Linked DNA regions of Homo sapiens: regions 2 and 3 are each linked to region 1. The links are contacts of gene promoters, found by promoter capture Hi-C in blood cells and fetal thymus (Javierre and others, 2016). All regions are on one chromosome and are shown on one strand. The core of a region is centred on a gene start or on the middle of the fragment in contact, and the rest is flanking DNA. Distances in the headings are between cores, read along the strand shown. Region 1 holds the start of SLC67A1 (solute carrier family 67 member 1). Region 2 overlaps CD81-AS1 (CD81 antisense RNA 1). Region 3 overlaps CD81-AS1 (CD81 antisense RNA 1).

Region 1 (3,089 bases), core at 239-2,738:
GGTTTGAGGAGGTGCTGCCCCCAGGAGGGAAGTGGGGTGGCTCCCCATGGCTTCTCCCGGGGCTGGCACTGAAGCTGGAGCACAGGATGTGCTGACGGGGGTCCAGAGGCAGAGTCCTTAACTTACTCAGCTTAAGCGTGGCATGAGTCCCAACTGGGAGGGGCCCTGGCAGCATGAAACCCCCACCCCCACTCTCTGCGACGGCCCAGATGGAGGGCAGGAGGAACAGCGGTTCAGCCCTGGCTGGGGCTGCAGGGGCTGGGGTGTGTTACTCACTGGCACGATGGAGAACTGCATGAAGAGGCAGGTAAGTTCTGTGGCGGCCAGCACGTAGGTAAGCAAGATGACCGAGGACCGGCCTAGAGCGCTCATCCTGCCGGGGGACCGGCCCTGGTCCCTGGGAGCCCGAGCTCCCTGCATCCTGGACAGGCGCAGCAGGGAGACCCAGGAGAGATCCAAGCAGGAGGCTGGCGGAGCAGGGGGCAAAAGTCCAGTTGATCCGGGCAGGGGTGCTGAGTCACTGGGTCCCAGGCAGCACCCGCCTGGCCTTGCCTGCAAGAGAGGACAGCACTGCAGGACCCCCTCCCCAGTGGAGCTCTCCTGCTACCTGGACCTTAGAGGACACATCAGGGGGTCCCCCTCCTCCACTTTTGACAGCTCTGGTCTCCAGGCACACAGCCTCCCGGGGAGGGGAGACAGGGACAAGCTGCTCCCCCCGACCCCTGCAGGTGGGCCAGGCTCAGTGCCTGGTTGCCTGACACAGGAATGTGCCATGCCCCACTTTTAGAGGGAGGCAGAGGCTCGGAGTGGTGGCTGAGTCCACCTCAAATCATCAGCGCCTTCTGTGGCCAGAGGGCTGATGTGGGTCCCTGTGCCTGGAGGCCCTCCGTAGGCCCACAGTGGCCCTGTCCCCAACACAGTGCAGCTCTCAGGGAAGGTCTACCTTCCCCTGTGGCCAGCAGCCAGAGCTCCAAGGGGCTTCTGGAATGGTCTTGCGTAGGGGAGACATAGCTCAGCCTTCCAGGCTCCCCAGTAGCTCTGCCTTACCTCCCACAGCGGAGTGCTGTCTGTCCCCACCCTTCCCCGCCCGGCCTCCAACTGGTGGGAACTGGATTTTGCGGCTGCAGAGGACTTCCCCAAATTTTGCCACATTAACAGCTGACTGCACATCTGAGCCCCGAGGTACCGAACCCAGGCTGGTGGGGTAGGGCGGGGAGACCCCTGAGGGTCCGGGAGCTGCGCCTGGCGCCCTCCCCCATCCCGGGATGCAGGGAGGCTGGGGGGAGCAGGGCAGCCGCAGCAGGCACGTCAGGGGCACCTCATTGGGCAGAGGTGCGACGCTGCGCCGGAGTTCGGGGTTCGGGGCTCAGAGGCCGCCCTCTCCGGAGTGTGCTCGAGTACCTGCCTTTGCAGGGGCGGGCTTGGGCACGGGTGCCGGTGGGGTGAGCGCTCCAGGGTGACCTAGACACCGGTCCTTCCGGGATGAGCCCCGGCCCCGCCCTTTCGGGAGATGACTTGCAACAGGGACCGCCCCTCTGGGTCTGAGTTCCAGCCCTCGCGCTTTGCAATCGCCAGTTCCGGGAGCGCCCGTGCCACGGTTTCTGCGCTCTCACTGGCCGAGCCCGCCCCTCCCCTCGAAGGACCCGCCCCTGCCCCGCCCACCAGCGGGCTCGCCCCGTGCCCGGCTTCGCCCGCCCCAGCCCCCTCCAGCTTGAATCCTGCCCGGTGCCCGGGCTGCTGGAGGTGGACACTCTGACCCTCAGGCAGCACCGGTGTCCACTTTGGGCCTGAGGAGGGGCAGTGTGGGCAGGGGATGGGACCGGGAGGTGGAGGGAAGGAGAGAATGGAGGGGAGGCAGGGGCGGGGAGAGAAAAGCGGAGGAATGGTGGTGAGGGGTTAGGGGAAGAAGTCAGGGGAGGTTGTAGAGGGTGTGGTGTAGCCTGGCCCTGCCAAAGGTCTGCACAGAGCCCCAGAAGAGTGACCAGGAGACAGCTCTGGGCCCCTCCTCACTTCCCTCCCCAGACCCGGAGGCTGCTAGGAGCAGTTGAGAGCCCACTTTTCCCCATTTCACCCTGCCTGCCACTTCCCCACCCTTGCAGGGGCCACCAGAGATGCCAGCACACAGGTAAACAAGCCTCATGCCGCCCTCCGCAGCAGGAGCCGCTGGAGCACACACACCCCACGCTGCGCACACTTGGCCCAAGCCCTGCCCTTGGCCTGGGCACCATTCTCCGTGCCCCTGACTGTCACTAAGTAGGGAGATGCTCATTCAGGACTCCTGCCCCACCTCCTCCCCAGGCAAGGGCTGGGCACAGGCTCAAATGTCAAAACCAGTGTCCCCCTGCCATGTGTCAATCATCGCTCCACAGAGCAGAAAACTGCAGGGGTGAGACAGGGTGGGACGGACATCGCAGAGGCGAGCGAGAGCCGGCCAAAGTCCTGGTGGGCAGGGGGGCCAGAGCCAGGTGGCCCAAGGCCGGCTGGCTAAGCCATTCCAAGTCACCGTGGGAGTGGTTCAGCAGCTACCCTTCGTTCAGCAGCTCAGATATGTTGGGCATCAGAAAACAATACCCCAAAATGAAGGCCTCAGAAGCAGCTTCGGAAGAAAAAGTGTTTCTCTGACCTTCTCTTGCTCTCCTGTCTCTCAGTGCCATTTTCCCCGAAGCTGGCCTTAGAAACTGGAATCCATTTTCCCCAGGGCAGGTCATAGAAATCAGAACCCCGCCTTTCCACACAGCCAGACATCAAACCTAAAAATATTGCTCTAACTTTCCCTCCACCTTTGTGTTTAGAAGCTGGCCATAAATTATCTGACCTCTCTTGTTTGACTGTAGGGCATAAGACCCCATTCCAGGAGGGTCCTGCTCCATGCCCAGAAGGAAGGAATGCTGCTCAGAAAGTTCAAGAAATCTAGACCAACAGCCCTCGCTGCGCTTCCCCTTGCGGTCCAGGAGCATTAGTGCAGGTCCCTTGGTTCATCTGTGTTCCCGCATGGATGTCCATACTTTGTTGAGCCTAAGCATCAGAAATGGCAATTTCCCCCATATCTTTTTTTTTTTTTTTTTTTTTTTTTGAGACGGAGTCTTGCT
Region 2 (3,089 bases), core at 274-2,773, 570 kb after region 1:
CCTGAAGCAACTGAAGAACCACAAAAGAAGTGAAAGTAGACAGTTGCTGCCTTAACTGATGACATTCCACCATGGTGATTTGTTCCTGCCCCACCCTAACTAATCAATTGACCTTGTGAAATTCCTTCTCCTGGTCAATGAGTATCAGAAGGTCCCCACCGAGCACTTTGTAACCCCCCCGCCCCTGCCCACAAAAGAAAAACCCCCTTTAACTGTAATTTTCCACTACCTACCCAAATCCTATAAAACTGCCCCACCCCTATCTCCCTTTGCTGACTCCTTTTTTGGACCCAGTCTGCCTGCACCCAGGTGATTAAAAAGCTTCATTGCTCACACAAAACCTATTTGGTGGTCTCTTCACACAGAGGCGCGTGACAAATAAGAGGGAAGTCCTCTTACCTGGGTGAGCTGGGACATTGGTTTTTTCCTGTCTTCAAACTCAAACTGAAACATTGGCTCTCCTTGGGTCTTGAGCCTGCTGCCTTTCAGACGGGAGCTTACACCATCAGTCCTCCTGGGTCTCCAAGGTTCCCAACTACGGATCTTGGGACTGCTCAGCCTCTGTAATTGTGTGAGCCAAGTCCTTACAATAATCTCTCTCTGTGTGTATGTACACATCTTACTGACTCGGTTTCTCTGGAGAACCCTGACTGTTACTCAGCATCCTTGGACTTGTTCGAGTCTGACGTTGGCATGGGAGTTGGTTCCGGGGGAATTTACCTGCATGCTTGGAGCTGGATGTGCAGGGTTTAGACAAGACCACCTCATGTACATCTTCTCCAGCCCAATTCCTGTGTCCATCCCAGCTGGGACAAGCAACCCCACACCACGGCCCCTAGGCCCCTGACCTCCCCTGTCCAGTGAACTTCATCTGCCCCACTGTGCCCATCACCATCCCTGGGGTCTCTTTAATTTTGGGTTGCTTCCTCTCTGAGATTTAAAGTCCAAACCTTGCACCCCTTCCACACCTCCAGGCCCTGTGTGTTTGCTTTGCCCACCTGCTTTGCTGGGAGTGCTCTACGCAGCCGTACTGCATGCTTTCCTCACTGCACTTCTTTGCCTGCACAGCTGGGAACACCTGGTCCTTCACTTTAATCACACCCTTGCCAGTATCCTGAACTCCTATATAGTTGGAACAGCCTTTATTTATTTATTTATTTTGAGATGGAATCTGGCTCTGTCGCCCAGGCGGGAGCGTAGTGGTACGATCTCGGCTCACTGCAACCTCCACCTCCTGGGTTCAAGCAATTCTCCTGCCTCGGCCTCCTGAGTAGCTAGGACTATAGGCATGCACCACCACACCTGGCTAATTTTTGTATTTTTAATAGAGATGGGGTTTCATCATGTTGGCCAGGCTTGTCTCCAACTCCTGACTTCAAGTGATCCACCCGCCTCGATCCCCCTGTGTGCCCTTTCATTTTCTGCCATGTGAGGACACGGCAAGAAGGTCCTCTCAAGTAATCCCAAAGTGCTGGGATTACAGACATGAGCCACTGTGCCTGGCCAGGAACAGCCTTCAGATTGCCCTGGAGAGCTTTTTAGACGCAGATTGCTAGGCTCCACCCCAGCATCCTTAATTTGGGAGGCCTGGGCAGGGCCTGAGAATCTGCATTTCTACCGCATTCCCGGGTGATGCAGCTGGTCCAGGAACCATGCTTTGAAAGTAGGCTACGTTGCAGTTAACAAATACCCCCTGAGGTCTCGGGGTTATTTTTCACTTGCATATGGTGGTCAAGTGACTCTTCATCTTTGAGCTGACTTTGGGAACGTGTGTCCTGTAAGGTCACCTTGGAAAGGGAAGGGCGATTGGGAAGTAGCTTACGTTGCTTCCTCCCATATCCCACAGGTCAGAACTCGGTCACATGACCCTCATGCAACCACACTAACCATAGAGGTGACTGGGAAATGCAGTCTTTCCATTTGCCTAGGAGGAAGAAACAGTGTGGTGAACACATGGTATCGTCTGTTCCGCCATCCACCCCTCTGTTGACCTGCCAAAGTCCACCCAGTCACTACACCCTCTCCAGACCCAGCATCTCCGATGGATGAGCACATCAGGTTTGGATATGCCCTCTCTTGGTCCAGCACCCTATGAATTTAAACATTGAGTTATCTGTCCCCCTATGCTAGATTGTATCTGTGACCCCAGTCTCTCGCCCTTTCCTGTGCCCGAGGCCAGCCACGACTTGCTGTCTTGGGAATGCACCCAGCCAAGATCAGTCAAGCAGAGCCCAGACACATAAGCAGGAAAAGCTGACTGTTGTGCACCACGGAGACTGTGTAGATACGTGTTAATTTGCGTTTCTTCTTATGGCAGCACCCTCCTTCACAGAGCCTGCTTCTGTATTAGTCAGGACAGGCCAGGCTGTATTGTGGTAGCAGTCGGAACCCCCAAACCCAGCTGCTGCCAAGAGAGCAGGCACCGGGGGCCCGAGTGATGGGGACTTGGTGGAGCTGGAGCAGCAAACTTGCTAAAATCACTCCTGGTGACCTGGCAGGCTGAATACAAGAAGGCTCAGCCAGGAGCATAAGGGGCGAAGTGGGAAAACACCACATTGCGAGTTTTGTGTTAGGTCCCGCAACACGAGACGGAGACCAGCTTGAGAAAGAAGGCCCAGCTTACAAGCAGAGATGAAAGTGAACAGAGAGATGGATCCAGAAATTCAGAGCACCGCAAGGGCAGAAAAACCAACTGCTCCAAGAGTTAGGATTTTAACAAGCTTTGGGAGACAAAGGCCCAATAAAATGCCTGACTTGGACCGATCAACAGAAGACAAAGATGGGATTAAGGCCCATTCAAGTCTGAGAGCCTTCTGACAGCTGCCATTGAGTTGATGGAGAGGAATGAGAGCAAATACATCCTGAAACTTCAGTTTTCTGTGTGCATTAGTCATGGCTTACTGTGGTCTGAATATTTGTGTCCCTCCAAAATTCATGTTGAAAAGTCCCCAACGCAACGGTAGTGAGAGGTGGGGCCTTTGGAAGGCGATGAGGCCGTGGGGGCTCCGCCCTCCTGGGTGGGATCAGTGCTTTAGAAAAGGGCGAGGAATGAGCTCGGTGCCTGTGTGCCCTTTCCCTTTCTGCCATGT
Region 3 (3,089 bases), core at 423-2,922, 540 kb after region 1:
CTGGTGGCTATACTCTGTGACTCTGTGGGCCTGGCTTGAGGGGGAAGACAGTGAATAGTCTGCCTATTTACTGTCTCCAGCTGGGGCTCCCCTTTGCTGATGGGGTCCCCTCTCCAGGGTGTCTCCCCTCCACTGAGGGTCTCCTCTCCCTGGACCAAGTGACCCCTGTCTGCATTTGCAGGTTGGGGACAGGTGGGGCTGGCTGGCACCTGTCATTGATTTATTAATAAATCAATAATTTTGGGGGTGGCTGCCTGCTGGAGGTGGGATGGGTGGTGGAGGAGTCACCTTCACTCTTGTCTAAACCCATGAGTTTTTGTTCAACACTGGGATGGGGAAAGCAGCTTGTTAGGACCCTGTTCCCTGAGGAGGGATGGGTGAGGCTGTTGGGGTGAGGCTGTCTGTCAGCCGTGACCAGAGCTGGCTGAGCTACCCTAGGCTTCATGTCCCCAGGTGCAGCATAGCCATGGGACGCCCAGGGGCCTCTGATCCCCTTCCTACAAGCTGTGTGTAGTTTAAAGGGGCTGGGAGTGCAGAAGAGGACGCGGGCCTGCTTTTCCACACTGGCTCCGTTCCCTTCGTGCGGGTGCCAGCCAGGCCCGGCCTTTTCTGGCCAGGGTCACCGTGTCCTGGACCCAGCCCTGACCCCTCCATTCCCTACCGTGTTGTCACCATCCCCTGTGAGGAGGGACCCCTGAGGCCTCTTTCTCCCGCTCTAGAGGCTCTTCCGGACCCCTGATCCTCACAGCCTGGGCCTCCCCAGAGGCTTCTGGGGCCACTGGTTCCCCGTACAAGCTGATACCAGCCGTTAATGACATTGCCTTGTTTACTTCAGCATGAGCTGGGCCACAGAGGGGAAGCTGTGTTGCTGAAGGGGACTCTGAAGATTACCATTGGAGGGGCTGCCTGGCTGAGACCTGAATAAGTGAGCAGTGCCCAAGAACAGAAAGGGGAGGTTGTCAGATGCTGGCCAGCACTGCCTAGCCCCAACCTGCAGACACAGATAGGGCGGAGGGGTCACCCAACCCAGGAAGGGGAGCTCATCTATGGAGGGGAGCCCCCCTGGAGTAGGGACCCCATCAGAGGACCCCGTCAGCAGAGGGGAGCCCACCCGGAGAGGGGACCCTATCAACAGAGAGGAGACCTAGCTGGAGAGGGGACCCTGTCAGCAGAGAGCAGCCTCACCTGGAGAAGGGACTTCATCAGCCAAGGGAGCCCCAGATGGAAAGGAGACCCTGTCAGTGGAGAGGAGCCCCAGCTGAAGAGGGGACCCCATCAGTGGAGGGAGCCCAAGCTGAAGAGGGGACCACATCAGTGGAGGGAGCCCCAGCTGGAGAGGGGACCCCATCAGTGGAGAGAGCCACAGCTGTAGAGGGAACCCCATCAGTGGAGGGAGCCCCAGCTGGAGAGGGGACCCCATCAGCAGAGGGAAGCCACAGCTGGAGAGGGGAACCCATCAGCAGAGGGGAGCCCACAGGGGTATCCAGAGGGAAGGCCAGGTTGGGTATCCTGGGAGTGGGAAGTTGGGTCAGAGGTGAGGCTTTTGCAGCGAGCAAGCTTGTTTCAGGTTGGGAGTGCCCAGCGGGCAGTGGGGGTTGGTGGACGCAGCAGGGAGGAAGTTCCAGGGTCTTTGACAGCGGCTGCTCCCCACTGCAGAGCTGACAATCTCTTGAGGACTCCAAGAATGAACGGATGGCCAAGCCTGGGCCTCCAGTGGGAACAGCGCCACCGTGGAAGAGGAGGGAGGTTGTCCTCATGTAGGGGGCAGGCTGGAGAGACAAGCTTGGGGTGGATGATGGTTTGCTTCTTAGGTGAAGGAAAATGAAGAGCCACCTGCAGCCATCGCTCTGCTCTCCAAATCAATCCTGAATAACTGGGAGAGAAAAACTTAAAAATGAGACCAGTGAATGGAATGGGAGGTGGGATGGGGATGTGGCAGAAGAGGGGGCCGCCCCACTCCTGTTGGACGTGGGGGCACTGGGAGCCACATGCATGCCAGGGACGCCCAGCCCCTGGCCCTGGGCCAGCCTCACTGGCAGTGGCTGGGGACAGTGGGTCTCTGTGCCTCCTCCTCGTCTCTGCGGTCCCTGGCTGGGTGCCCACCCTCTCCCTCATCTCGCCGTCTGCCTTCCTTTCATTTCTTTTTGGCATGGTTCTCTCACTGTCCAGGAAGGAACTTGGCGTCTTGCACCCCAGGCGGGCAGAGCCAGGAGCCCAGCTGACCCAGAAGGGCTCGGGTGGAGTGGGTGGGTGGTGGGAAAGCAGCTGGAGCCCCCGAATGCAGAGCCTGCCCCGTCTGCCGTGCCTGGAGGGCACCCCTCACTCCTCAGGCTCTCCAGAAGGTCAGCTATGGGGGCAGGGTCTGGGCCCATTCTGGACCCTGCTGTATCCCAGGGACCATTTAAATGGGGGCCTGGCACAGACTAGGGGTTCAGTTGTTAAATGAATAAGCAAAGCTCAAAGCCCCCTATGTTCCTTGCCTGAGCCAAGAAGGAAGCCTGGGCCTGGCTTCTGAGTCCACCCACCCTCCTTGTGAGGTAGGAAGGCAGTGGCATTGCATAACTGACCACCTACAGGACCGGGCCACGCCGAGAGGGAGCAGGCGCCTTGATGCTCCTAGATCGTCGGCCAGACTCCCCCTCCCCAGTCCTTGGAGCCTCCTTGCTTCTTCAACCCCTGTCAGAGTCCGTGGGGCAAGGTGAGACTGGGAACACTGTCTCCTCCCCCAGACGTGGCTGATCTCAGCCTGGAGCCCCACCCCAGGGCTGCACAGGACCAGGGTCCAGATCATCAGCCCAGGATGCACGGTGGACTATGTGTGCCCAGCACTCGTGCACCGAGAGACCCGTCTTGTTTCCCATGAGCCCCTCGGTGCTGGGTGCCGGGTGAGAGCATAGCCCTGGTGATCCTGGTGGTCTTCTCCAGACTCTGATGTTTCCTTCCAGTCTCCCGGCCCTCCCCTCAATGTGCAGTGTGTGCGGGTTGAGGGGGCTGCTGTGGTCTGAATGTGTCCCCCATCTCTGTAATCATGATGGACTAACATCATTGTCGTGGGAGCGGGCTCTGACAGAAGGATGAGTTTGGTCCCC

What was found. Contacts are between HindIII fragments. The CHiCAGO score rates a contact against its expected background, and 5 or more counts as called.
Region 2: a contact is called between a fragment that was not itself captured here and the fragment with the promoter of SLC67A1 in region 1, in 2 of 17 cell types (total B cells and naive B cells). The highest score is 5.8, in total B cells.
Region 3: a contact is called between a fragment that was not itself captured here and the fragment with the promoter of SLC67A1 in region 1, in 3 of 17 cell types (M0 macrophages, naive B cells and non-activated CD4 T cells). The highest score is 6.9, in M0 macrophages.

Annotation. Positions count from the first base shown.
Region 1 is chr11:2,900,677-2,903,765 of GRCh38, reverse strand. It overlaps SLC67A1 (solute carrier family 67 member 1), which reads right to left and starts at 1,488. Exons shown (of 11, transcript NM_002555.6): 1 at 1,402-1,488; 2 at 277-552. The coding sequence starts at 420. SLC67A1-AS (SLC67A1 antisense RNA) reads left to right here and starts at 191. Exons shown (of 3, transcript NR_169305.1): 1 at 191-307; 2 at 1,057-1,182. RefSeq lists an enhancer at 1-301 and a silencer at 1,227-1,356. The HindIII fragment of the contact is 10,715 bases long and covers 1-3,089 here.
Region 2 is chr11:2,328,532-2,331,620 of GRCh38, reverse strand. CD81-AS1 (CD81 antisense RNA 1) reads left to right here. Exons shown (of 3, transcript NR_108080.1): 2 at 1,847-2,058; 3 at 2,318-2,872. Among named protein-coding and RNA genes, the nearest start is that of TSPAN32, 28 kb to the right of the region's middle. RefSeq lists an enhancer at 2,541-3,042. The HindIII fragment of the contact is 2,399 bases long and covers 324-2,722 here.
Region 3 is chr11:2,365,471-2,368,559 of GRCh38, reverse strand. All of the region lies in intron 1 of CD81-AS1 (CD81 antisense RNA 1), which reads left to right. Among named protein-coding and RNA genes, the nearest start is that of CD81, 10 kb to the left of the region's middle. The HindIII fragment of the contact is 225 bases long and covers 1,560-1,784 here.